Regions from separate parts of the Homo sapiens genome. Here all the other regions are linked to region 5. The links are contacts of gene promoters, found by promoter capture Hi-C in blood cells and fetal thymus (Javierre and others, 2016). All regions are on one chromosome and are shown on one strand. The core of a region is centred on a gene start or on the middle of the fragment in contact, and the rest is flanking DNA. Distances in the headings are between cores, read along the strand shown. Region 1 has its middle 40 kb from the start of TNFRSF9. Region 2 overlaps RERE (arginine-glutamic acid dipeptide repeats). Region 3 overlaps RERE (arginine-glutamic acid dipeptide repeats). Region 4 overlaps PARK7 (Parkinsonism associated deglycase). Region 5 holds the start of SLC45A1 (solute carrier family 45 member 1). Region 6 overlaps TNFRSF9 (TNF receptor superfamily member 9). Region 7 has its middle 5.4 kb from the start of TNFRSF9.

The links. The method cuts DNA at HindIII sites, captures the fragments that hold promoters and counts their contacts. A CHiCAGO score of 5 or more calls a contact.
Region 1: a contact is called between a fragment that was not itself captured here and the fragment with the promoter of SLC45A1 in region 5, in 3 of 17 cell types (total CD4 T cells, activated CD4 T cells and total CD8 T cells). The highest score is 7.0, in total CD4 T cells.
Region 2: a fragment that was not itself captured here is called in contact with the fragment with the promoter of SLC45A1 in region 5 in 1 of 17 cell types (M1 macrophages); the score reaches 5.1 in M1 macrophages.
Region 3: a contact is called between a fragment that was not itself captured here and the fragment with the promoter of SLC45A1 in region 5, in 1 of 17 cell types (activated CD4 T cells). The highest score is 5.1, in activated CD4 T cells.
Region 4: a contact is called between a fragment that was not itself captured here and the fragment with the promoter of SLC45A1 in region 5, in 16 of 17 cell types (endothelial precursors, M2 macrophages, M1 macrophages and 13 more). The highest score is 34.5, in endothelial precursors.
Region 6: a fragment that was not itself captured here is called in contact with the fragment with the promoter of SLC45A1 in region 5 in 1 of 17 cell types (total CD8 T cells); the score reaches 6.3 in total CD8 T cells.
Region 7: a contact is called between a fragment that was not itself captured here and the fragment with the promoter of SLC45A1 in region 5, in 8 of 17 cell types (naive CD4 T cells, endothelial precursors, total CD8 T cells and 5 more). The highest score is 8.5, in naive CD4 T cells.

What each region holds. Positions count from the first base shown.
Region 1 is chr1:7,898,673-7,902,706 of GRCh38, reverse strand. It overlaps a transcript of UTS2 not described here. Among named protein-coding and RNA genes, the nearest start is that of TNFRSF9, 40 kb to the left of the region's middle. The HindIII fragment of the contact is 194 bases long and covers 2,634-2,827 here.
Region 2 is chr1:8,736,102-8,739,830 of GRCh38, reverse strand. All of the region lies in intron 1 of RERE (arginine-glutamic acid dipeptide repeats), which reads left to right. Among named protein-coding and RNA genes, the nearest start is that of RERE, 80 kb to the left of the region's middle. The HindIII fragment of the contact is 604 bases long and covers 1,977-2,580 here.
Region 3 is chr1:8,771,208-8,774,839 of GRCh38, reverse strand. The region is part of intron 1 of RERE (arginine-glutamic acid dipeptide repeats); the gene reads left to right. Among named protein-coding and RNA genes, the nearest start is that of RERE, 45 kb to the left of the region's middle. The HindIII fragment of the contact is 5,646 bases long and covers 1-3,632 here.
Region 4 is chr1:7,974,039-7,977,832 of GRCh38, reverse strand. PARK7 (Parkinsonism associated deglycase) reads right to left here. Exons shown (of 7, transcript NM_007262.5): 6 at 95-181. Among named protein-coding and RNA genes, the nearest start is that of PARK7, 14 kb to the right of the region's middle. The HindIII fragment of the contact is 323 bases long and covers 1,479-1,801 here.
Region 5 is chr1:8,315,792-8,319,438 of GRCh38, reverse strand. It overlaps SLC45A1 (solute carrier family 45 member 1), which reads right to left and starts at 1,325. Exons shown (of 9, transcript NM_001080397.3): 1 at 1,253-1,325. RefSeq lists a silencer at 1,216-1,495. The HindIII fragment of the contact is 5,366 bases long and covers 1-3,620 here.
Region 6 is chr1:7,914,786-7,918,950 of GRCh38, reverse strand. It overlaps TNFRSF9 (TNF receptor superfamily member 9), which reads left to right. Exons shown (of 8, transcript NM_001561.6): 8 at 1-3,080. Among named protein-coding and RNA genes, the nearest start is that of TNFRSF9, 24 kb to the left of the region's middle. The HindIII fragment of the contact is 866 bases long and covers 2,232-3,097 here.
Region 7 is chr1:7,944,238-7,948,235 of GRCh38, reverse strand. No RefSeq gene overlaps it. Among named protein-coding and RNA genes, the nearest start is that of TNFRSF9, 5.4 kb to the right of the region's middle. The HindIII fragment of the contact is 3,304 bases long and covers 181-3,484 here.

The sequences.
Region 1 (4,034 bases), core at 1,481-3,980, 420 kb after region 5:
GCTCACTTCTTCAGCACTTTGGGAGGCCGAGGTGGGAAGATCACGTGAGGTCAGGAGTTCAAGACCAGCCTGGCCAACATAGCGAGACCCCCGTCCCTATAAAAAATTAGATTAACAACAACAAAAAGAATTAGGAGGCTCCTTAGTAGGGACGCCCTTCCCCCATAACTTAATAGTCCAACAATGATGTGCAAGTCGCCAAAAGAAAGAAAATGTATGGGGAGTGGAAGTATAGAAAAAGCCGCACTGACGACCCAGGCCATCTTTAGGCCCCTGTGATGTGAATGGGAATGATTTTCAGAGTCTTTACCAAAATGACTACATTGTCAGAACTTCCCCGACTTCCCGCTTTCCCCCAGAGAATCACCCCTTCCCTGTTGAGGAGACAGGCAATCTGCCCAGAGCCCAGAGAGAAGATAATTTCTAACTTCCATACAAAAAAGCAGGGTGGTCCCATCAGGACAAAACTCTCCCTGAAGGAGTCAGGTCTGTATAACCCTCACCCGGGGGCAGAGATAGCCTGGAGCCCAAAGGCTGTGTCTGATCCCAGACCCTGTTGTAGGAGCTGGTGGGGAATTGCCACCCTCCGCAGTCCTCCCTACCCAGAGCCACAGAGCCCCAAAGCTTCCCTCCCAGCCTGGTGTTACCAGCGCTGAGTCCAGCCCTGCTCTCAGCCACCCCGGTCATTCTCTCCCACCTCATCCATCACCCTCTCCCTCGCACCCACTCCCTCTAGGGTCGCTGGATTTCCTTCTGCTCCTTGAATCCACTAAACTTTTCTCTGGCTTAGGACATTGGAGTTTGCTGTTCCTTCTTTCTCAAATGCTTTTCCCTACAGACCTCACACGTTCCGTGATCTGCTGGGCCAGTCTGTGTGGATCCTCACAGGCATCTCAAACCCAGGATGTTCCAAACTGGCCGAGGGTTTTTGTTTTGGTGGCACTGGATTGAACCATCTCCTCCACGAAGTCCATTTCCTCACACGAAGTCCGTTTCCTCATTTGTAAAATGAAGACAATAGCACCTACCTTACAGGCTTTTTGTGAGGATTAAATGAGAATATAAATATATATATACACACACACACACACACACACACATAGATGAATATATATACACATCCAAGTATATAGCAGCTGTATGTATATATTTACATACATACATATGTATATAGCATATACATGTATACATATAAAGCAAGTAGCACAGTGCCTGATCCATAGAACACCTCAATGAATGGAAACCTTTACAGTAAATGCTAACATTTTCCTCCATAAAGCAGCTCCTTCCACCTCCTCTCCAAGGCAGACATCAGATTAGTACCTTTTGACTCTTTCCTCTCTTTCACCACCCACATTTAATGAAACAACAAATCCCAGTGTGTATTTCTAGAATCCAATCCATTCTTCACATCCTACTCTCACTGTCCTAATTCATGCCTGTGTTATTTCTGGCCTGGATTACTGCAGTAGTCTTCCAATAGCCTGCTTCACATCCAAGCTCCATTACTTAATCTATGTAGAATGAAAGCTTACCATGCGATAACAGACTACTATGAACGGGTTTTTGCCAATACATTTGAAAACTCAGACAAAATGACCAATTCCCTAGAAAAAACGTAACTTACCAAAACTGACTTAAGAAGAAAGAAAATGTATGGATAGTCATAAAATGATTAGGGAAATTGAAACAGAAGTAAAAATCTTTGTCAAATTAAACTTAGACCTGGATGACTTTCCAGGTAAGTTCTCTTAAACTTTCATGGAGTGGATCATTCCTATTTTATAAAAACTCTTCCAGAGAATAGAAGAAAGTGGTTTATCTTCTCCTAGGTATTCTGTGAGGCCAGTGTAACCTTGATACTAAAACCAGGCAAGGACAGTAAAAGAAAAAGAGGCAAAAACATGAAACAATTTTTTTTTTTTGGAGATGGAATCTCACTCTGTAGCCCAGGTTGGAGTGCAGTAGCATGATCTGAGCTCATTGCAACCTCCACTTCCCTGGTTCAAGCAATTCTTCTGCCTCAGCCTCCTGAGTAGCTGGGATTACAGGCGCCAGCCACCACTGTGCCTGGCTAATTTTTGTATTTTTAGTAGAGATGGGGTTTTTGCCATGTTGGCCAGGCCAGTCTCGAACTCCTGACCTCAGGTAATCCACCTGGCTTGGCCTCCCAAAGTATTGAGATTACAGGCGTGAGCCACCACACCTGGCCAAAACAAAATATTAATGTGGTGTTTCATGCCCACACATTATTTAACCTACCTTGCTCGCTTCCTTCCTTCCTTCCTTCTTTCCTTCTTTCTTTTTTTGGAGACAAGTTCTGGCTCTGTCGCCAGGCCAAGTGTGGTGGTACAATCAAGGCTCACTGCAGCTTCCACCTCCCAGGCTCGGGTGATCCTCTCACCTCAGCCTCCTGAGTAGCTGGCAATACAGGCATGCACCACTGTGCCTGGCTAATTTTTAAATTATTTATAGAGAAGAGGTTTCACTATGTTGCCCAGGCTGGTCTTGAACTCCTGAGCTCAAGTGATCCTCTCCTGCCTTGGCCTCCCAAAGTGCTGGAATTACAGGTGTGAGCCATTGTGCCTGGCCATTCATTTGATATTTCTACATTCAGGAAGTGGAGCTAAGCTTTCCTCCACTTGAGCATGGAGTGACTTGCATCTGATGATTCCAGGTTATAAAAAGTCTGTGGCTTCCGGGTTGGGTACACTCTCGCTCTCTCTGCGATTGCTGTCTCTGGAGGAAGCCAATTGCTGTATCTGAGAGGCCTACATGTTGACAGTCACACAGTGAGCCTGGAAGCAGGTCTTTCCCTCGTGAAGCTTCCAGATGACTTCAGCTCTGACCAACACATTGACCACAACTTCCTGAGAGACCCTGAGCCAGAACTACATAGCTCAGCCACTCCTGGACTCCTGAGAAAACATGTTATAACAAATGCTTGCTGTTTCAAGACACTAAATTGTGGGATAACTTCTTACGTTAATATAGTTCACAAACAAAATCTAACAGTGTTTAAAAAAGATCATAAAGACAGGTGCAGTGGTTCGTGCCTGTAGTCCCAGCTACTCAGGAGGCTGAGGTGTGAGGATCACCTGAGCCTGGGAAGGTTGAGGCTGCAGTGAGTCATGATCACGCCACTGCACTCCAGCCTGGGCATCAGAGTGAGACCTTGTCTCAAAAAATAAAAAGGACTAGATAAGAACTTCCTTAACTGATAAGGGATATCTAAAGAAAAAAATTAGTAAACATTATTATTTTATTTTTTTAAAACACCTAACTGCATCGACTCAAAGTAAACATTATTCTTAATGAGAAAATGTTGAAAGTGTTTTACTTATGAGCTGAAACAGGATAAAGATGGTCACGATCGCTGTAGGGTCCCTCAGGCCTCTGTTTTCTTTCTGTGTCCTTACCGAAAATCAGATTGCCTTGACTGCTCTCTGATATGGTTTGAATCTGTGTCTTCAGCAAATCTCTTGTCTAATTGTAATCCCCAATGTTGGAGATGAGGCCTGGTGGGAGGTGATTGGGTCATGGGGCGGATGCTGTTCTCATTATAGTCAATGAGGTTTCACAAGATCTGGTTGTTAAAAAGTGTGTGGCACCTCCCTCCTCTCTCTCTTCCTCCTGTTTTGGCCATGTAAGATGTGCCTGTTTCCCCTTCACCTTCTGTCATGATTGTAAGTTTCCCAGGGCCTCCCCAGCCATGCTTCCTGTACAGCCTATGGAACCTCGAGCCAATTCAACCTCTTTTCTTTATAAATTACCCAGTCTCAGGCATTTCTTTATAGCAGTGTGAGAATGGACTAATACAGTAACCCAGCCAACTGTATAGGTTTTGTCCAACAGGCTTGAACCCAAATCAGGGCCTTGAACATTTCCAGGCACTGATGAAAGTATCTAGGTTTACTTGAAAAAAACTGTCCCTAGCTCTGGACCAAACCTTCATATAACTCTATATTCTGGGAGGCCGAGGTGGGTGGATCACGAGGTCAGGAGATCGAGGCCATCCTGGCTAACACAGTGAA
Region 2 (3,729 bases), core at 1,029-3,528, 420 kb before region 5:
AACATTAATCATAATGGAGTGAAGTGGATGGAGTGAAGTAGATGGATTCAATAAATACTTAGAAGGTAGGACCTGTGGGACTTGATGACTGGAGGAAAAATCAAGGATGCCTCTAGGTTTTGGGCTTAGACAACTGATAGATGATTGTGTGCTTGTGTCAGTTATTGATTTATTGCTTCTCACCTCGAAGTATGTCCTTCATTGCTTGCTCTGTGAAAATGAATCTGGGCCTTTTGCTTTTCCTCCGCCAGCTGGCACGATGTTTAGTTTTGTCAGTAGAGGGTGCTGGAGAGACATTGAGGAGGAAAGAGATTTACTTGCTGGTTCCAAGAGAGGCCAGTGTGGCACATGGTGTTTCTTCAGTGCTCAGGCATTTGCAGCTCTTAGTGACCAGCAGCTCTCCTGCTGCCCAGGTAGCAGAGTACGTCCACTGAGACACTCTCCCACAAACAACTTTCCTTGGCATTCTAGAGGACTGATTTCTGGCAAATTTCACAGAGTGGATTGCCTGAAGTTCTGTCAGGTATGAGCCCCCTCCAGCAAGGTCTGGATCTCAGCCCTAGAGTTGGGGGAACTCTTTCTTGGGTGCTCTGTCTCAGCCTTAAGGGTGGTGGCAATTATATGTTGTGTTACATAATATTATATTTGCTACTATATTTTATGTCAGCTATTGCTGTGTTCTTTCAAGGTCTTATTTGCCAACTTCTCATTAATCTTTTGTTATAGTTAATGATTTTTTATCTTCCCTTGTTCAAATTACCATGTAGTTTCTTTCTCCTGATTGGACTTAGGCTATGACTGGACATAGAGTGTTCTGTTAGAATCATAAAGAGAGAGCATATTTGGGGAGAGAGATGGACAGAGTTTGGGACATGACCAATTTTAAGTGCAGAACACTCAGATATCCAAGTGCCTGTCCTATATGGGTTTGGAATGAGCTCCAAAGACCTGGATTGGAGATTGCCCAGGAAGAGTGTGAGGAACAAGATGACAGTATGGTCAGGATAGAGTCCTGTAGGTTACAGCCTGTTCACATGAAAAGGAACCTCCTAAGGAGGCTGGGGAAGACTGATTGGAGGGATACTATAGTTTATTATTATATTATTCATATGGTTTTTGTGAAGGTGAAATGAGTTGATATTATATAAAGCACTGAGCATAGTGTCTGGCACGTAAGTCCTTAGTAAATGGGACTACTGACTGTGCTGTTGTCTGCTGGGCAATGTGGTGGGTGTCAGGGATAGAGGATGACCAGGGCTGCAGGCTCTGCCTTGAGGGGTGGGGAATGGGAAGAGGCTTGTTAAGTGTGTTATAGTGAGTGGTAGGTGTCAGAAAGGCGTGAATAGGCTGGGTGTGGTGGCTCATGCCTGTAATCCCAGCACTTTGGGAGGCTGAGGCAGGAGGATTGTTTGAGGTCAGGAGTTTGAGACCAGCCCAGGAGAATCACTTGAACCAGGGAGGCAGAGGTTGCAGTGAGCCAAGTTCACACCACTGCACTCCAGCCTGAGTGACAGAGCGAGACTCCATCTCAAAAAAATAAAAAAAAAGAACAACAACAAAAGAAAGGCACGAATAAAGCTCCAAAAACTTCTGCCTTGGGGATTCTGATCAGGGGCCACAGAGGAGGTAAAGGCTCAGCTGGATCTTGGAGGAGAGGTGTAGGTTTGCCCCGTGAAGAGAGGGCAGGGAAGGTCTTCTGAACAGAGGCAACAGCGTTAGCAGAGGAGGGAGAGTGCTTGACAGCCCAGTCCCACAGCGGGGTCATGGTTTGCCTCTTGACTTAGGGGTGGGACAAAAATTGGACACACTTTCTGAATAGCTGTTTATTCTGCATCCTTATATTCCACAGTGTGCTTTGTTCTCATAACTAGATTTATAATTTATTTAGTGAGTTTTAAAATTTCTGCAGGACATTTGCTAGTTAACAATCTAAAATGATTTAAAACTTTGATTTATGCTAACATTTTGCTTAAGCTTTCATTGAGTGTGAAATTGGAGTGTGTAGGCTGAAATCTTTAAGAGGGGAAAGTTGAAATGTACTGCGTGCTGTGCCACTTCATTGAGTTTTACTCTCTGGATGAAAACATTTTTTTCCAGCCACGTGTGGTGGCTCACACCTGTTATCTTAGCACTTTGGGAGGCCAAGGCAGGAGGATCACTTGAGCCCAGGAGTTGGAGACCAGCCTAGGCAACATAGGGAAATCCTGTCTCTACAAAAAGAGTTTAAAAAGTTAAAAAAAAAAAAAATTCTGCTTCCTGAACATTGATAGAGCTCAGAACAGTTTCTGGGTCATGTGAGTTCTCTTCAACTTGCAATTGTTTTTCAAAGGTTCGACAACGGAAGAAATGGAAATTCCTAAAAATTGTATGACTCTTCTCTCAATAACTCACATTTTTGGAGATTTAGGAAACAAGTGTGATAAACTTTTGATTCTTTTGGAGGGAAAACGTGGCAATTAAGCCTTAAAGCCCTCTGTGATTTATTCTTTGTGACTGGAATGTTATTTTCCTTTTTCTCTGTCTGGCAAACTCTAAGTGGATGTATAGCTGACTTATTAGTTTCTAGTCTTTTCTAAAGCTTCTGAATTTGGTTTACCAAAGCACTGCCCTAAGATAAGTCTGTGGTAATACTGGCATGCTTTCATTGAAGACCTTCAAATTGTCAGAAAAAAAAAGGAAACAGTCCAGCAAGCATTCATTAGAATGTGTTATCTTTGGACCCTGGTAGAGGAAGTCCCTTGGCTGAAATGGCACACTCTAATCCAGAAATTCTCCTGAAAGGTCTGCTTCTGAGTCTTCAGAGGAAAGAGGAATACATTTTCTAAAGAAAGATAATCATTTGTTTTTTTCAGAAAGAAGAGTTAAACCATTCTTTATTGGCTAGGACTCCTGGGAATTATATAAGAAGGAAGCTGAGAAGGAAGATGTCAAACAATGACTCTCCAAAGGTTTTAGTTTTTTTTTTTTTTTTTTTTTTTTCCCCCTTGCTTCTCCTAGAGGTAACAGACACCTATAACTCTTTGTTCTTGGTGAAGACCAAGTGTTTGCCTAAAAGAGTGTTGAGAGACCCAAGAAAATAAGACACTTAGGGCAGTTTTACTTTACTTGACTGTCCCTTGGGTAAAATGATGGAAGTTGAAATGTGACTCTTCTGATAATTGCCTCCTCTGTTCTTCTATGATATAAGCCAAGGGTAACAAACATTCCAAGATTATTATATTTTTGAAATTTGGGGATTGTTTTGAAGTTGATAAAATATTTCATATTAGCAATTTATTGAGAAGTTGAAAGAAAAACATGATGCTCACTTTAAGAACAAGTATAGGCCGGGCGCGGTGGCTCACACCTGTAATCCAAGCACTTTGGGAGGCCGAGGTGGGTGGATCACGAGGTCAGGAGATTGAGACCATCCTGGTTAAGACGGTGAAACCCCGTCTCTACTAAAAAATACAAAAAATTAGCCAGGCGTGGTGGCGGGCGCCTGTAGTCCCAGCTACTCAAGAGGCTGAGGCAGGAGAATGGCATGAACCCAGGAGGCGGACCTTGCAGTGAGCCAAGATTGTGCCACTGCACTCCAGCCTGGGCAACAGAGCAAGACTCTGTCTCCAAAAAACAAACAAACAAACAAACAAACAAACAAACTGATGGTTTAAATGCAGAACAATTGCAGGAATTATGATAGTGAGAGCACCCCTGCACTCACCGTTTAGATTCTACAGTTGCATTTTA
Region 3 (3,632 bases), core at 627-3,126, 450 kb before region 5:
ACTATTGAGGAGTTAAAATACCCACCAATGAATGAGCACGTTCATGTTTGTTATGTTTATGTCCTTGAGAAGATTAGATAAACATGGTTTTATTCTGTATAATAGACTATTAATTCTTGTTTGATTCTTTTAGGTCATTGAAATAAGTTAGATTTCTTATAGGTTTTAATAGTTTGCCAAAATGATGGCCGGGTGTGGTGACTCATGCCTGTAGTCCCAGCAGTTTGGGAGGCCGAGGCGGGTCGATCAGCTGAGGTTGGGAGTTCAAGACCAGCCTGACACAACATGGAGAAACCCTGCCTCTACTAAAAATACAAAATTAGCCGGGCGTGGTGGCACATGCCTGTAATCCCAGCTACTAGGGAGGCTGAGGCAGGAGAATCGCTTGAACCCAGGAGGCGGAGGTTGGGGTGAGCCGAGATCGCGCCATTGCACTCCAGCCTGGGCAACAAGAGCGAAACTCTGTAGCAAAAAAAAAAAAAAAAAAAAAAATAGTTTGCCAAAATGAAGGAGATAATATTAAATTCCTACAAGCAGTGAGTATAAACCAGAGAAAGTAGAAGTGAAATCTGAAAGATGCTGAAATGAAGAAAACTGAGGACCAAAGAAAGACAGGTACAGTTGAGGCTGGAGAACAAATGCATCTCGAATATTCAGGATTGCTAGTGATTATGGCTAGAGAATGGGATGCCTCGAATGAATGGCTTTAGAGGTAGAGCAAGTTTGGCTGCGTGTGTGGATTCGTGGAGAGAGGACACCTAGGAACAAGGTACCTGGTTAGATGAGTACATTTTTGTTGCCATCACCCTGGATTATGATAGGATCCTGTTGAGAAGGAAGGCTATGAGCTGATGTCAAAGACTTGAGTAAATGAGTGGGAAAGATCATTAGAGATCATTCTGTTAAAATTCTATGGCAGTTCTTTTGTGACATTTCCCCTTCTCATTGTCTTTGACTGTCATTGATGTCAAATGTATGTACAGCATTGTAACTTACTTTAGATGTAACTTTTTTCTGAGATGGAGTCTCGCTCTGTCGCCCAGGCTGGAGTGCAGTGGCGCGATCTCAGCTCCCTGCAGTCTCTGCCTCCCAGGTTCAAGCGATTCTCCTGCCTCAGCCTCCCAAGTAGCTGGTATTATAGATGCGCACCACCACGCCCGGCTAATTTTTGTGTTTTTAGTAGAGACAGGGTTTCACCGTGTTGGTCAGGCTGGTCTCGAACTCCTCACCTTGTGATTCGCCCACCCTGGCCTCCCAAAGTGCTGGGATTACAGGCGTGAGCTACCGTGCCCAGCTAATTTTTGTATTTTTTTACATGGGGTTTTGCCATGTTGTGCAGGCTGGTCTTGAACTTCAGAGCTCAAGTGATTGGCGCACCTTGGCCTCCCAAAGCACTGGGATTTCAGGTGTGAGCCACCGTACCCGGCCAGCAACCTTCTTTCAGCATCTGCTTTCTTTGGTTGAGAGTTGTTATGAAGACATATCATCTGGTTATGATTTAATATAATTTCATATTATTGCTATAGCATTTCAAAGCATGAAATATTTCTTGAACATCTCTATTTAGACAGATGTTTTGACTTTTAGATCTTTAAGTTAAGATGACAAATAATAGTAACATTTTTGGACCTTAAAATTCTCAAAAACTTTCTTTGGTAATTCAATCAACAAAATTCTTTTTCTTTTAAGTTTAGTTGATATTGTATTAAAGGTACAGACCAGATATTCACTTATTTTTTTATTTTTATTTTTTAAAGAAGTAAATTTCTTAGTTGCCCAGGCTGGAATACAATGGCATGATCTCTGTTCACTGCAACCTTCACCTCCTGGGTTCAAGCGATTCTTGCGCCTCAGCTTCCCAAGTAGCTGGGATTACATGCATGTGCCACCAAGCCTGGCTAATTTTTGTACTTTTAGTAGATGGGGTTTCACTATGTTGGCCAGGCTGGCCTTGAACTCCTGGCCTCAAGTGATCCACCTGCCTCAGCCTTCCAAAGTGCTGGGATTACAGGCATGAGCCACTGTGCCCAGCCCATAAATTTCTTTTTCTTTTCTTTTTTTGAGACCGAGTCTTGCTCTGTTGCCCAGGCTGGAGTGCAGTGGCCAATCTCAGCTTACTGCAACCTCTACCTTCCGGGTTCAAGTGATTCTTCTGCCTCAGCCTCCTGAGTAGCTGCTGGGACTACAGGTGCCCGCCACCATGCCCAACTAATTATTTTGTATTTTTAGTTGAGATGGGGTTTCACCATGTTGGCTAGGCTAGTCTTGAACTCCTGATCTCAGGTGATCCACCTGCCGTGGCCTTTCAAAGTGCTGGGATTACAGGTGTGAACCACCAAGTCCTGCCGAATTTCTTCTTCTTGGAAACACTGATTTTCCTTGTTGAGTTCCTCAAAGCCATTGTAAAGTTCTTATCAGAGCAAGGTACAGTATGTAATCTAATTTTTTTTCCTTGCTGGATTTGTAAGTTTACTTTGTAAGATTTTACTTAGAATGATGCTTCAAGAGGATAAAGTAAAACAGAATTTATATATCAGGAACAAATATCTCAAGTAGCAGTAAGTTTCAGTCCAGTGTAGTGACAGGTTATATCTCGTAATTAAAAAAAATAAGCATATGTTTGTAATTGAGTATATATTTCAATATAAAACAGTTGAAGCTCCTGCCTTCATGGAGTTTATAGAGATAACAGCTGTCTGTATTTTGGTGTCTTTTCTTCCAGTCTCTTTTTCTAGTTATATGTATTACAAAATTGGGATTATTTTACAAAATTGGGTATATAGATATTACATATGTACATGTACATGTGACAGTACATACATACAAAATTTTATATGTTTTCCTAAACAGCGTTTGCAGCAGAGTTCTCACAAGTCTCTAAAAACCTATTTTATCTTTCTTTTTTCTTTCTTTTTTTTTTTTTTTTTTTTGAGACAGAGTCTCACTCTGTCACCCAGGCTGGAGTGCAGTGGCGTGATCTCCGGTCACTGCAAGCTCCGCCTCCCGGGTTCATGCCATTCTCCTGCCTCTGCCTCCCGAGTAGCTGGGACTACAGGCACCCGCCACCGCGCCTGGCTAATTTTTTGTATTTTTAGTAGAGACGGGGCTTCACCTTGTTAGCCAGGATGGCCTCTATCTCCTGACCTCGTGATCTGCCTGCCTTGGCCTCCCACAGTGCTGGGATTACAGGCGTGAGCCACCATGCCCGGCCCATCTTTTTTCTGATTGTAAAATTAGTATATGCTAATTATAAACTTTACATAATGCAAAAAAATATTTAGCAAATAGAAGTTCCTAATAGTTTTTTTTTTTTTTTTGAAACAAGTTTCTCTCTGTCACCCAGGCTGGAGTGTAGTGGCGCAATCTCAGCTCACTGCAACCTCTGCCTCCTGGGTTCAAGCGATTCTCCTGCCTCAGCCTCCGGAGTATCTGGGACCTCAGGTGTGCGCCATCACGTCTGGCTAATTTTTTTGTATTTTTAGTAGAGATGGGGTTTTGTCATGTTGGCCAGGCTGGACTCGAACTCCTGACCTCAAGTGATCCACCCGCCTCGGCCTCCCAAAATTCTGAGATTAGGTGTGAGCCACCACGCCCGGCCCAGTTTCTAATAGTTCTAATCTCCAAAATGATAG
Region 4 (3,794 bases), core at 391-2,890, 340 kb after region 5:
AGCCAAGATCACGCCACTGCACTCCAGCCTGGGCGATGGAGCGAGACTCCATCTCAAAAAACAAACAAACAAACAAAAACAAGCATATACTTACCTCCATTCATCATTTTGTCTTTAGCAAGAGGGTGTGTTGTAACTTTACTTCCAAAACCTATTTCATGAGCCAACAGAGCAGTAGGACCTAAGAATAAAAATAAAAAGATCTAAGTGCAGATATAGAAAAGCCCATGTTTAAAAAATCGCAATAGTGCCTGGCACAGTGGCTCATGCCTGTAATCCCAGCAATTGGGGAGGCCTAGGTAGAAAAATTGCTTGAGCCCAGGAATTCAACATCAGCCTGGGCAACACAGACCCCTTCTCTAACAACAACAAAAACTGCAACAGCAAAGTATTCTTCAAAATCAAGAGGCTCTTACCAAACATACAGCTACGATTCTGAAATGAAACACTTCCTAGTATGAGAGATAAAGTATGTTTATAACAAACGATTTGCTGAGCACATCTGGCAAAAGCACAGAAACTCAAAATACTTCAATAACCATTTACTCAAGAAGATTTACCTTGATACCAGCAGAGCATACACAGATAAACAAAATGTGCTCACCTCTCTCACCTTCCCCATCCCCAGAACAGGGACCACATATACCAGGAGTCCAAAGGAGGGGGAGGATCACTGGGGCGGGCTCAACTTCTTACCTCACTCTTAGTAAAAGGAAAGATTTAGTTACATGCTAAAGGCAACTGGTACTCTCTGAACTTCTGGATTTTATTGCTCTTTTGTAATCTTATTTTCTACTTGAAAATGGGAAATTAGGCCGGGCACGGTGGCTCATGCCTGTATTCCCAGCACTTTGGGAGGCCAAGGCGGCTGGATCATGAGGTCAGGAGATCAAGACCATCCTGGCTAACACGCTGGAACCCTGTCTCTACTAAAAATACAAAAAATTAGCTGTGCGTGGTGGCGGGCGCCTGTAGTCCCAGCTACTCGGGAGGCTGAGGCAGGAGAATGGGGTGAACCCGGGAGGCAGAGCTTTCAGTGAGCCAAGATCGTGCCACTGCACTCCAGCCTGGGCGACAGAGCGAGACTCTGTCTCAAAATAAATAAAAAATAAATAAATAAAATGGGAAATTAACACTCGTTCATCCACCTATCCACCCAAGTATGCCAGGTGGTAGGATTAAAATGGACAGCACACTGTCCTTGAAGGAGATAGCCTGTGAAGTGCCTGGAAGTGTGAGATATAAAGGCACTAGCATCACGTGATGAAAGCTACTTAAGCAAAGAACCACATGGAAGTGTCAGTTGATGAAGTCTTTCCAAATTGGCAGGTCCTAACTTGAGATTTTTATTTAAATGTATTCACTGAAAACGGCCAACTTCAGGGAGGGTCACAAGCATATTGCGTATGTAATGGTCCTAAATAAGGATTAAAAACAAAGATTTTATATACCTTTCATTGTTATTTCATCTTAAAGCTTTTTACAAAGTATTCATTCTACCTTTTTCCTCTAAGCCACACATATAAACATTCTTTCTAAGGCCTCACATGACACTTAGAAGGATACGTTTCAGAACAGCACCTTGATCTTGGAAACACTTAAGGTGCCCTGGATGGCTAAGATCCTGTGGCACAGTTTGTACACTTTTAGTGTCAGCAAACCTGAGAGGTCTTGGTCTTACTGTCCTTTCATTTTTCAACAAGACTCCAAGGAAGGAATTATATAATATACCCACAAGCTACTCAGACCGTAGCTGTTACAAACAGGAAGATCACACAAATACTACCTAATTACATAAGCTTTCTGCCTAATATCAGCTGTCAGTTTCAGACCAAGTCCTGATTTATAGCTCTTAAATCAAAAGCCTCAAATGTCTCTTCTCCACGTTATTTTTACACACAAGACAGCTATGTATGGTAGCAAATTTTAGAAGTCCGTAAGAATTGAATAATTATCAATTTTTATTTGAATGGATTTATAAATTGTTTTTAATTTTTATTTGGTAAGAATTTAAGAAGAAATTCCTACATCATCTTGCATTTTAAAGTAAACTTTAATAGATGATAGCACAGTGAGGAAAGTGATCGGTGAACGAGAATTTTTAGGCTGCTCCCTTCAAGGTGGTAATAAAATCACTGCTACGATGTGAATAAATTTATGTTACAGTTGGATTCAGGAATTTACTGATGTCTTTCATACTTATCAGGTAAGCTCATAATCACTGCTTTCTGGGGCGTCAGAACCCTATTTGGAATACTGGAGAAGAGACGTTTCACTCTCCCAGGACCTGGGATTCTGATGGATGAAAACGCTCTGTACTCTGCACTACAGTGCAGAGGGCGCAGCTGACCATGTCCCCTTCTGCAGCCAACAGCACCACCCTGTGGTAACATGCAAAATGACCACCTCTGCCAACTCCCCAGCTCCTCCAGGTGGCCAAGACCTTGCTTCCAGAGGCCTCATTCCTAGACCTGGGCATCTCAGCTGACAACTGTCCACTCCTCCAACTCCACACTTCCTCCCCCTCCCCTACTCAAAGTAAATATCATTTAATTTTCTTCTCAACATAGACTCCCTTCCAATTTGCGTTCCTCATTCACTCAATATTAAGGACTAGGCTAATATTCTTTGTGTTCAAAATGTTTCCAATCCCTAACTGCAACACTTCAGAATAATCTTGGCTGGGTGCGGTGGCTCACGCCTGTAATCCTAGCACTTTGGGAGGCCAAGGTGGGCGGATCACGAGATCAGGAGTTCGAGACCAGCCTGGCTAACATGGTGAAACCCCGTCTCTACCAAAAATACAAAAATTAGCTGGGCATGGTGGCAGGTGCCTGTAATTCTAGCTACTCGGGAGCCTGAGGCAGGAGAATCGCTTGAACCTGGGAGGTGGAGGTTGCAGTGAGCCGAAATTGCACCACTGCACTCCAGCTTGGGCAACAAGAGCAAAGCTCCCATTTCAACAAAAAAAAAAAAAAAAAAGAATCTTATTTTTCTGTTTGCCAATTTAAAAGATCCAAATCTCTTCCATCACTCCTCTGTTCCATTCCCATAACCCTCATCTCAATTAGCTCAGCTCATCATCACATTTTTTCCTATTTCTGGTGTAGTGCCCACAACAGTGGTGCAGGATATTCAATGGTATAAACACACTGCTAGTGTGTTTTCTATTTTTACTGTTTTTTATATAATTTTTTTTTTTTTGAGATGGAGTCTCACTCTGTCGCCCAGGCTGGAGAGCAGTGGCGCAATCTCGGCTCACTGCAAGCTCTGCCCCCCAGGTTCACACCATTCTCCTGCCTCAGCCTCCCGAGTAGCTGGGACTACAGGCACCCGCCACCACGCCTGGCTAATTTTTTGTATTTTTAGGAGAGACAGGGTTTCACCGTGTTAGCCAGGATGGTCTCGATCTCCTGACCTTGTGATCCGCACGCCTCGGCCTCCCAAAGTGCTGGGATTACAGGTGTGAGCCACCGCCCTTGGCCTATTTTTACTTTTTTTTTTTAAGAGACCAAGTCTTGCTCTGTCCTTTAGGCTCAAGTGCAGTGGTGTGATCACCACATCTCAATGTAACCTCAAATTCCTGGGCTCAAAGTGATCCTCCCACCTCAGCCTCCTGAGTAGCTGGGACTACAAGTGTGCACCACCACACCAGGCTGATTTTTTAAAATATTTTTTTGTAGAGGTCGGTGGGGGGGTCTCACTATGTTGCCCAGGCTGGTCTTGAACTCCTGGGTTCAAGTGATCCTCCCACCTCAGTCTCCCAAAGTGCTAGGATTACAGCTATGAGCCAC
Region 5 (3,647 bases), core at 76-2,575:
AGTAATCAATGTCAATGTAGTTTGAATGCTTACAATGATCCTACTACGAGCGGAAACCATTTCCTCATTTCTTTCTTCTCGTTATGAAAATGAGCTCCCCCCACGGGGTTGCCTTGGGCCACCTCCCTTCCTAGGGCGTATTTGCTTATTTGTTTATTTGAGACGGAGTCTCACTCTATCGCCCAGACTAGAGTGCAGTGGCATGATCTGGGTTCACTGCAACCTCCGCCTCCTGGGTTCAAGCGATTCTCCTGCCTCAGCTTCCCAAGTAGCTGGGATTACAGGCATGTGCCACCACGCCCGGCTAATTTTGTATTTTTAGTAGAGATGGGGTTTCACCATGTTGGCCAGGCTGGTCTTGAACTCCTGACCTCAGGTGATCCACCCGACTCAGCCTCCCAAAGTGCTGGGATTACAGGCATGAGCCACCGCGCCCGACCCCTCATGCTTCTTTCTACCCATTCTCAAAATTCTTCAGTGAGGTCCTCCAGGACCAGGAAGGTGCTCTACGGACTTGGGAGGGTGCACTTAATAGGCTAGTTACTGAATCGTGGCCGTTTCCCACTTTGCATCTCCGGCAGCTTGACCCCTACTCCAGGGCCAACTTTTCCCAAAAGCCCAGGCCAGGTGCAGCCTGAACGTGGCTTTCCTCCGCCCCTGACTCTGCTTCCCTGTAAGAGCTGAAAAACATGCACGGCTGTCACTCTAGAAATAATTAGAGAAGTTGCTGATTGTCGAGGGCAGAAGGAGCTGAACGGCTTCCACCTCAGCGCGTTCCCCTTGGTGCTGACTCGCTCGGGAAAGGGGAGTCCTCGGTGCCCTCGCTAAGTAACCCTGGGATGCTGAGGGGCGTTGCCAGGCCCCTGGTCAACAAGAGGGCTCAGCCCCACGCAAGAGGTGAGCCGGGAGCGGATGACACCTGCCCAGGTGACTAGGGACCAGGCCTCCGGCTCAAGGAGCGCATCAGGAGCTGGGGCCAAGGCCGGGGTCTCCTCCCCTTGCCAGCAAGGATGAGAGCACCTGCCATCTGGCCGGCACCCTCCCCTGGGCCCGAGGCTCCTGCCCTCGGAGGGGCGAGACGGGGGAGCTCCGTGGACTCTGCAATTCATGAGACTTCCACGAGGAACAAAGGTCTCCGTGCCGGCCTCGGGTCCCGGTCTCGGCGCCCTGACTACCCCGGGGCCCAGGGCGCGGCGCCCCGGCAGGCACGGAGCCAGAGAGCGGGCGGAGGGCGCGGAGGAGACGGTGGTACCTGTGGGTGGAGACGGCAGGCATCCCTGTCCCCGCTGGGCTGCTGCCTGCCCGGCCGCGGTCCCGGCTGCTGCAGCATCACCCGGGGCGGGGCGCTGACGTCACGGCCGCAGCCTCCGCATCCGCGCGGGGCCCGGAGCCTTAAAGCGGCGCCGCGTCTGGGGCCCCGCGGGCGGGAGGGGAGCCCGGTGTCCTCCTGGGCCCTTCCCGCGGGAGGCCCGTCCCGGTGCTTCGCGCACGACGGCGCGGTCTGCAGGATCTGCCAGGATCCCGGAGGAAAACGTCCCCCCGGCCTCACAGTTCTCACCGTTTTCTTCTGATTTTAAAAGAAATAAATACATTTTCGTGTCTTCATGTATAAATAGATACCCATGTGTTCGCGGATACGTGAATGCCGCAGTGCGTGTGCCAAGCCTGTGCCCATGTGCGCAGTGGGGCAGCCGGGCCTGCTGGAGGCGTCGCGACTCTGGGCCCGGAGCTGTCCAAGGCACTGGGGATGCCGCAAGAACAAGGCAAAGTTCCCGCCCCTGGGGGAACTTTGTAATGTAAGTAAATACATAAATACTTTATGTATTTATTATTTACTTCATTTTTTAAAATACAGAGAGGCAGGGCCTTGCTATGTTGCCCAGGCTGGTCTCGACTCCTGGGCTCAAGTGATCCTTCTGCCTCGGCCTCCCAAAGTACAGGTGTGAGCCACCGCACCCGGCTGCATGACATTTAAGAGAGAGACACACACACATTAAACAAGACATAAAATAAATGGTATGTCAGAAGATGGCAATGCCCTAGAGAAGGGGTTAGGGAGTGTGGGGCTGCAGAGGCGCTGGCCTTGCAGGTTTCTATCAGGTTGTTGGCGAGTCCTCACCTGGAAGGTGACACTAGAAGGAGGATTTGCGGAGCAGGCCGGGCACGGTGGCTCACACCTGTAATCCCTGCGCTCTGGGAGGCCGAGAGGGGCAGATCACCTGAGGTCTGGAGTTCGAGACCAGCCTGGCCAACATGGCAAAACCCCCATCTCTACTAAAAATATAAAAATTAGCCACACGTGGTGCTGGGTGCCTGTAATCTCAGCTACTCAGCTGAGGCAGGAGAATCGCTTGAACCTGGGAGGCAGGGGTTGCAGTGAGCTGAGATCGTGCCACTGCACTCCAGCCTGGGCCACAGAGTGAGACTCCATCTCAAAAAGAAAAGAAGGACCTGAGGAGCTAGGGGGGCCAGCCAGACTGACGTGTGGGGAAGGTCACGCCAGGCACTGGGAAGAGCAAGTGCAAAGGCCAGGGGCAGAAGTGAGCTGGGCTGAGTCCAATAATTACGGATGAAATAATTATGCAGCTGGTAGTGGAATAATAACCCCAGGGAAGCGCTGCAGAGTGGGGGCACGGGGCCCTGTGGAAGTTTACCGCGGCGGATTCCACCCCATTGGGAGGGTCGAGGGCTCCTCAAGGAGCCCTACCAGGCCAAGTAGAGAGAACAGCATGTCCCACACAGAGGGCTCAGAGAGCTCTGCACTGGCAGAGCTCCGGAGGGGAGAGGGCCTGGAGGCACACTGCAAAGGAAGTGGAGGGGGACAGGGATGCAGAGGCCTGGGAAGGAGGTGAGGGCTGGGGAGGTGGGACAGGCCCAGGTGTGGCCTCTTAGGCAGTTGCCAGTTTCTAAGAGCAAAGAGAAGCCTAGAAAGGTTTTATGTAGGGGAGTGGATGGCATGAATCCTATTCACAGTTAGCAAAGATCATAAAGCTCAGAGTGAAAACAGATTGGAGGGAACCAGGGGACCACATGGGCGTACCGGGTGGCACAGGTGGGAGAGTTGGGGGTGTTGGTAGAGGGAGAGAGGTGATGGACTGGCCGGGGACTTAGGACTCCATGATTGACTGAAGGTGGGGGGGTACAGGAACAGCGAGGGTGGTGCTAAGAAGTTTCTAGCTTGAGCGATGAGGGAAGAGAGTGGATTCATGGAGGCCAAAGCAGGTGTGTGCTGGAGTGAATGCCATAGGTTTGCTTTGGGATATGCTGAGCTTGAGGGCCTTCGCAGCCTCTAGGCCACCAGACACTTGGGTCTGGAGCTCAAAGATGCTCCTTTATGAGTCCCCTGCACATGGGAGCTAATTGCAGGTGAACTGTGGACCTCGCACTGCCAGGGAGAGGCGCAGGGCAGAGGGCCCCAGAGGACACCATGGGAATTTCAACAGATCCTGCCCAGGCTGAAGAGAAGGAGCCACTGGAGGGGGCTGGTTCTGGCTTCTTTTATCTCTATAACAGGGTAACAGCTTGAAAAAAATACCGATGTCCTTTTCTATTTTGCATGCAAGTGGCCTGCCATCAACTGATGAGCTTCAGCACCTCAGGGACTTAATGCAATAGAAGCTTACTTCCACATGAGGTTGGCAGAAGTG
Region 6 (4,165 bases), core at 1,415-3,914, 400 kb after region 5:
GTACCAAATTGCTTTTCAAAGTGGCTGTTCTAATGTACTCCCGTCAGTCATATAAGTGTCATGTAAGTATCCCATTGATCCACATCCTTGCTACCCTCTGGTACTATCAGGTGCCCTTAATTTTGCCAAGCCAGTGGGTATAGAATGAGATCTCACTGTGGTCTTAGTTTGCATTTGCTTGGTTACTGATGAGCACCTTGTCAAATATTTATATACCATTTGTGTTTATTTTTTTAAATAAAATGCTTGCTCATGCTTTTTTGCCCATTTGCAAAAAAACTTGGGGCCGGGTGCAGTGGCTCATGCCTGTAGTCCCAGCTCTTTGGGAGGCCAAGGTGGGCAGATCGCTTGAGCCCAGGAGTTCGAGACCAGCCTTGGCAACATGGCGAAACCCTGTCTTTACAAAAAATACAAAAATTAGCCGGGTGTGGTGGTGTGCACCTGAAGTCCCAGCTACTCAGTAGGTTCGCTTTGAGCCTGGGAGGCAGAGGTTGCAGTGAGCTGGGACCGCATCACTACACTTCAGCCTGGGCAACAGAGAAAAACCTTTTCTCAGAAACAAACAAACCCAAATGTGGTTGTTTGTCCTGATTCCTAAAAGGTCTTTATGTATTCTAGATAATAATCTTTGGTCAGTTATATGTGTTAAAAAATATCTTCTTTGTGGCCAGGCACGGTAGCTCACACCTGTAATCCCAGCACTTTGCGGGGCTGAGGTGGGTGGATCATCTGAGGTCAAGAGTTCAAGATCAGCCTGGCCAACACAGTGAAACCCCATCTCTACTAAACATGTACAAAACTTAGCTGGGTATGGTGGCGGGTGCCTGTAACCCCAGCTGCTCCAGAGGCTGTGGCAGAAGAATCGCTTGAACCCAGGAGGCAGAGGTTGCAGCGAGCCAAGATTGTGCCATTGCACTCCAGACTGGGTGACAAGAGTGAAATTCTGCCTATCTATCTATCTATCTATCTATATCTATATATATATATATATATATCCTTTGTAATTTATTTTTCCCTTTTTAAAATTTTTTATAAAATTCTTTTTTATTTTTATTTTTAGCAGAGGTGAGGTTTCTGAGGTTTCATTATGTTGCCCAGGCTGGTCTTGAACTCCTGAGCTCAAGTGATCCTCCCACCTCAGCCTTCCAAAGTGCTGGAATTGCAGACATGAGCCACCGCGCCCCTCCTGTTTTTCTCTAATTAATGGTGTCTTTCTTTGTCTTTCTGGTAATAAGCAAAAAGTTCTTCATTTGATTTGGTTAAATTTATAACTGTTTTCTCATATGGTTAACATTTTTTCTTGCCTGGCTAAAGAAATCCTTTTCTGCCCAATACTATAAAGAGGTTTGCCCACATTTTATTCCAAAAGTTTTAAGTTTTGTCTTTCATCTTGAAGTCTAATGTATCAGGAACTGGCTTTTGTGCCTGTTGGGAGGTAGTGATCCAATTCCATGTCTTGCATGTAGGTAACCACTGGTCCCTGCGCCATGTATTCAATACGTCGTCTTTCTCCTGCGGGTCTGCAATCTCACCTACCATCCATCAAGTTTCCATAGGGCCATGGGTCTGCTTCTGGGCTCCCTGTTCTGTTCCATTGTCAATTTGTCTATCCTGTGCCAGTATCACACTGTGTTTATTACAATAGCTTTGTAACAGCTCTCGATATCCGGTAGGACATCTCCCTCCACCTTCTTTTTCTACTTCAGAAGTGTCTTAGCTAGGTCAGGCACGGTGGCTCACGCCTGTAATCCCAGCACTTTGGGAGGCCGACGCGGATGGATCACCTGAGGTCAGGAGTTTTGAGACAGCCTGGCCAACATGGTGAAACCCCATCTCTACTAAAAAATACAAAAATTAGTCAGGCATGGTGGCATGTGCCTGTAATCCCAGCTATTTGGGAGGCTGAGGCCGGAGAATTGCTTGAACCCGGGGGGCGGAGGTTGCAGTGAGCCGAGATCGTACCATTGCACTCCAGCCTGGGTGACAGAGCGAAACTCTGTCTCAGGAAAAAAAAGAAAAGAGATGTCTTGGTTATTCTTGGTTCTTTATTATTCAATATAAATTTTAGAAGCTGAATTTGAAAAGATTTGGATTGGAATTTCATTAAATCTACAGGTCAATTTAGGGAGAGTTGATAATTTTACAGAATTGAGTCATCTGGTGTTCCAATAAGAATAAGAGAACAATTATTGGCTGTACAATTCTTGCCAAATAGTAGGCAAAGCAAAGCTTAGGAAGTATACTGGTGCCATTTCAGGAACAAAGCTAGGTGCGAATATTTTTGTCTTTCTGAATCATGATGCTGTAAGTTCTAAAGTGATTTCTCCTCTTGGCTTTGGACACATGGTGTTTAATTACCTACTGCTGACTATCCACAAACAGAAAGAGACTGGTCATGCCCCACAGGGTTGGGGTATCCAAGATAATGGAGCGAGGCTCTCATGTGTCCTAGGTTACACACCGAAAATCCACAGTTTATTCTGTGAAGAAAGGAGGCTATGTTTATGATACAGACTGTGATATTTTTATCATAGCCTATTCTGGTATCATGTGCAAAAGCTATAAATGAAAAACACAGGAACTTGGCATGTGAGTCATTGCTCCCCCTAAATGACAATTAATAAGGAAGGAACATTGAGACAGAATAAAATGATCCCCTTCTGGGTTTAATTTAGAAAGTTCCATAATTAGGTTTAATAGAAATAAATGTAAATTTCTATGATTAAAAATAAATTAGCACATTTAGGGATACACAAATTATAAATCATTTTCTAAATGCTAAAAACAAGCTCAGGTTTTTTTCAGAAGAAAGTTTTAATTTTTTTTCTTTAGTGGAAGATATCACTCTGACGGAAAGTTTTGATGTGAGGGGCGGATGACTATAAAGTGGGCATCTTCCCCCACAGGAAGATGTTTCCATCTGTGGGTGAGAGGTGCCCACCGCAGCTAGGGCAGGTTACATGTGCCCTGTGTGTGGTAGGACTTGGAGAGTGATCTTTATCAACGTTTTTATTTAAAAGACTATCTAATAAAACACAAAACTATGATGTTCACAGGAAAAAAAGAATAAGAAAAAAAGACCTTATTTTAAAAAGCTTTTTATAACTGTTGCAACATCATATCATAAAGGGTAATCATGAAATAAGGTGCCATTCTTTGTAAACTTTGGCTTTTAGTGCCGAAGGATGCTAAAGATTTCCAGTATGAGATTCCTTTTGCTTTCAACAATTGACTTATTAGTTACATAAAAATGGATGCTGTTGATCGGGTGCAGTGGCTCACACCTGTAATCCCAGCACTTGGGGAGGCCAAGGGGGGTGGATCACCAGAGGTCAGGAGTTCAAGACCAGCCTGACCAATATGGTGAAACCCTGCCTCTACTAAATAATACAAAAATTAGCCGGGCGTGGTGGCATGCACCTGTAATCCCAGCTACTTGGGAGGCTGAGGCAGGAAAATCACTTGAACTTGGGAGACGGAGGTTGCAGTGAGCCAAGATCCCACCACTGCACTCCAGTCTGGGCGACAGAGCGAGACTCTGTCTCAAAAAAAAAAAAAAAAGAAGAATGCTGTTTTTGGCCAGTCACAGTGGCTCACACCTGTAATCCCAGCACTTTGGGAGGCTGAGGCGGGTGGATCACATGAGGCCAAGAGTTCAAGACCAGCCTGGCCAACATAGTGAAACCTCATCTCTACTAAAAATACAAAAATTAGCCAGGCATGGTGGCACACGCCTGTAATACCAGCTACTCGGGAGGTTGAGGCACAAGAATCACTTAAGCCTGGGAGGTGGAGGTGGCAGTGAGCTGAGATCACACCACTGCACTCCAGCCCGAGAGACAGAGTGAGACTCTGTCTCAGGAAAAAAAAAAAAAAAAAAAAAAAAATGCTGTTTTCCCAGCTTGGGCAACATGGTAAAACCCCATCTCTACCAAAAATACAAAAAATTAGCTAGGCATGGTGGTGCATGCCTGTAGTTCCAGCTACTTGGGGGGCTGAGGTGGGAGGATCATTTGAGCCCAGGAGGTCGAGGCTGCAGTAAGCCATGAATGCACCACTGCCCTTCAACCTGGATGACAAAGTGAGACCTTGTCTCAAAAAAAAGAAAAAACTGTTGTTACATCAATATTGATTCAGATAGCTGTATTTAAAATTCACTAAGCCA
Region 7 (3,998 bases), core at 583-3,082, 370 kb after region 5:
TTTAGTGGTAGTCGCAATCTGTTTAAATTCAGCGTTGAAGGGACCAGAGGAATGGACCACAGAATGTGATACACCATAAACATGTGCCATCTTGGTGAGGATGGTGAGGGACAGAAATGACATAGAGTTTTTGCCTTAAGATACAATGACAGCATCTGGAGAAATAATCAAAGTGAAGCTTGCTCTTGGAGTAAGAGCAAGTTCCCAGAGCTCAAACTGTTTAAGCGCATGAGCGACAGCAAGGAGACTTCATACAGGGGTTGTGACCCTGAGGTCCACAGATGCTCAAAGGTGCACAGATAAAAATCAGGGAGTCTGTGAACTTAGATTTAAATTACATCTTTAGTTTCACTAACCTCTAATGGAAATCTAAACCTAACATTTCTTCCCATTTGGAATATAGTAATTCACAAAGCATAGCTGAAGGAACAGTACTCATGGCTTGGGACCAATAGTACTGAAAGTCATCTTCATATCACATTACAGTTCTTGCAGATATCCCAGAATACCATTTTGATTCATGATTAATTTGAAATTATGCCAGATACATGTTAAGTCCATATATTAGTGCATCACAAATTGGCTTTTAAAATATTTGGCAGGGACATTTCAATTCAGTTGGTTTCCTTTGTAATCCTTTGTAATATATTTTATGAATTACGAATCCTATTCTGAGGGCTCCACAAGCATAGGACCCACAAGCGAATGGGGCCTTGGGCACAGGCAGGTTAAGAGTCTGGTTAAGAGCATGGGCTCTGCAGCCAGACAGCCGAGTTTCTAATCCTTTCTCGGCTCCTTACTAGCCAGGTGACACCAGGCAGGCTACCTGGCTTCTCTGTGCCCTTGTTTCCTCACCTGTGAAACAGGGACAAAGGCTGTCCTAAGGTATAATTGTGGGAACTTCTGTAAATACATAGAACAGTGCCTTGCGCATAGTAAGCCCTCGGCCAGTGTCAGCCGTGATCAGAAAAGCATTTTACATGAGACCTGAGAAAGGACAATGACAGCTCAGGTTGGGGTCTGCATGCCAGAATGATTTCCCCAGGAAGAGAGTGAAATTAAAACATTAGGTCATGAAGAGACAGGCAGACCGCAGGACTGGAGTGAACAAATCCATGTATTTATTTGTTCATTTGATAAAGGTTTATTGACTACCAACTGTGTGTCTCTCAGCGCTGTCTCTAACACTTTTGGGGCCTGGAGCAAGTATAGAAATGGGGCCCACACACCATGTCTGAATATTTAAAAGTGGCAAATCAAGCGCAAGGAGAATATTCTACTTCACAGAGAAGTCTTCAAAGTAACTAAATAACAAATTATTTTTATGTAACAAAGTTGGCAAAGATGACTGAGTTTAACTAACATTACAAATGTGTAGATGTTTTCTGATGACCTGAAAATGTTTAAATTAGTGGTAAATAAAGGCATACAGGGCCGGGCATGGTGACTCACGCCTGTAAGCCCAGCACTTTGGGAGGCCGAGGCAGGCAGATCACCTGAGTTCAGGAGTTTGAGACCATCCTGGCCAATGCGGTGAAACCCCGTCTCTACTAAAAATACAAAAATTAGCCGGGTGTGGTGGCACACACCTGCAGTCCCAGCTACTTGGGAGGCTGAGTGGGGAGAATCGCTTGAACCCAGGAGGCAGAGGTTGCAGTGAGCCGAGATCACACCACTGCACTCCAGCCTGGGTGACACAGCGAGACTTCGTCTCAAAAAAAAAAAAAGACACACATAGTTCATAAATAATTGTATTTTTATCTAGAAAATTTATTTTTTTGCTTTCATTTCATTTGTTACAATAGATAATTTCGCATAATTTGTGTTTGGACAGTAATGACTTAAAGGATTAAGAAATAAAATATAATTGTACTTAACATATACAGCATTTGTATGTATTTAATATAATGTGTGAATTTGAGTATGTAAAATTTTAAATTTGTTTTTACATTCGTTTTTTCATTTTTCTAAAAGTTCCAAAAGTATTAGAATTAAAAACAAATTATAGTGGATAAATATCAAATATTTAAAACTTATTTTTATTAAAGAACTGAGATTTTTAATCTTTTGAAATTTAAATTGTTTTAAATATTTTTATAAAAATTGAAATTGTCATTCTGGGTCTCAGTCCTAGGTGATTCTAGTAAAGAATTAATGCTGCAGTTCTTATTCTACATATTACATATGTGCATATTCAAGAATAATATGAATTGTTTAATATTACAAAGTCTTCCTCAGACTTTGTGCATAACTGCTGTGAATTCCATGGCAATATACAAGAACTTCCAAAACCACCAAGTGGGCCATAAATTGGATCAAGCAAGTGGATAACCAGCCTGAGCAACATGGCAAAACCCCTTTCTACAAAAAAATATAAAACTTAGCTGGGCAAGGTGGTGCGCACCTGTAGTCCCAGTTACTCGGGAGGCTGAGGCAGAAGAATCCCTTGAACCCTGGAGGCAGAAGCTGCAGTGAGCCAAGATTGCACCACTGCACTACAGCCTGGGTGACAGAGTGAGACCCTGTCTCAAAAAAAAAAAAAAAAAGGATACTTGGGACTGTAGGGAAATACCACTGTCTGTGATATTCTTGCATAATAATAGATTATACAAGAATCTGTTACACCCTTGGTATCTGAGATGGATTTGACAAATCTACTTGCCTTTTGTCTGCCTGGTACTTCTATGGCTCACACCCTCCCTGCCGTTCTTGGAGGCAACAGCACAGCTCACAACTCTCACAGCACGGTGTCACCCTCAAATGGAGTTTCAAGGACATGGATCCAGGGATGTGGGGGAGTCTTCACCCAGGCCTGGCAGTGTGGGTCCAGAGAGCAGATGGAGCCGAGTTAATGCATCCCTATGCCAGCACCGTGCGCCAGACACCCAGTCACAGACGCAGCTCTGTGTTCATTGTGTTTGTGTGTTTGTGTCTCTGCTCTGGACAGAACATACTTAACAGCGTATTTGGATTGATGAACAATTTCTAAATATTTGGACACATGGTAAGCAGGCCTCTGTTTGTACTCTTGTCCTGGGGACTGCACAGTGTTGGGGGTGGTCTGAAGTTGGAGACAACTATTGATAAGCCTTAGCATATGAGTGGATGCCACCTGGAGAAAGGGCAGAACAAGGAGGAAAGGTGAGCAAAGTCGATGGCTGCTGACACCCGCCTCTCCTTATGATTCGTACTTCCTTCTCCTTACTCTGCCTCCTTCCTCTTTGATTTCCTGCTCATTTTCTTTGTTCCAAGTTTAAAAACAATTTACTCCTTCCCAGGCCTCAGAACACCTACTGACATCACAAGCACCAGGTATGTCTAATAGTGACTACTAGTTTGGGTGTTTGGAGTAGGGGTGGCGACACTGAATCTTGAAAGAATAGATCTTTCAGGCAGAAAACAAGTGTAAACAGTGAATATCCCACGGAAGAGATTCCCTCTAAGATGCGCCCTGGAAGGGCGGAAGAATATTTTATAGGAAGCTTATTTTGAGGGCTTTCTCTTTCTAAATGTCTCCTTTATCCTGTTTAGAATTGTTGGGCCTTCATGCTATTTAGCCTCAAAGTATTTAGCTGCTTGAGATATTCAAGATTAGACCTATAGTCAATCAAAATGAAATAAAATCTATTTCTTGGTTTATTTATTTATTTATTTTTTTTTTATTTTATTTATTTATTTATTTTTTTGAGATGGAGTCTCGCCCTGTCGCCCAGGCTGGAGTGCAGTGGCACGATCTGGGCTCACTGCAAGCTCCGTGTCCCGGGTTCACGCCATTCTCCTGCCTCAGCCTCCAGAGTAGCTGGGACTACAGGCACCTGCCACAACGCCTTGCTAATTTTTTTTTGTATTTTTAGTAGAGATGGGGTTTCACCATGTTAGCCAGGATGGTCTCGATCTCCTGACCTTGTGATCCTCCCACCTCAGCCTCCCAAAGTGCTGGGATTATAGGCATGAGCCACTGCACCCGGCCTATTTCTTGGTTTAGAATGAGATGCTTA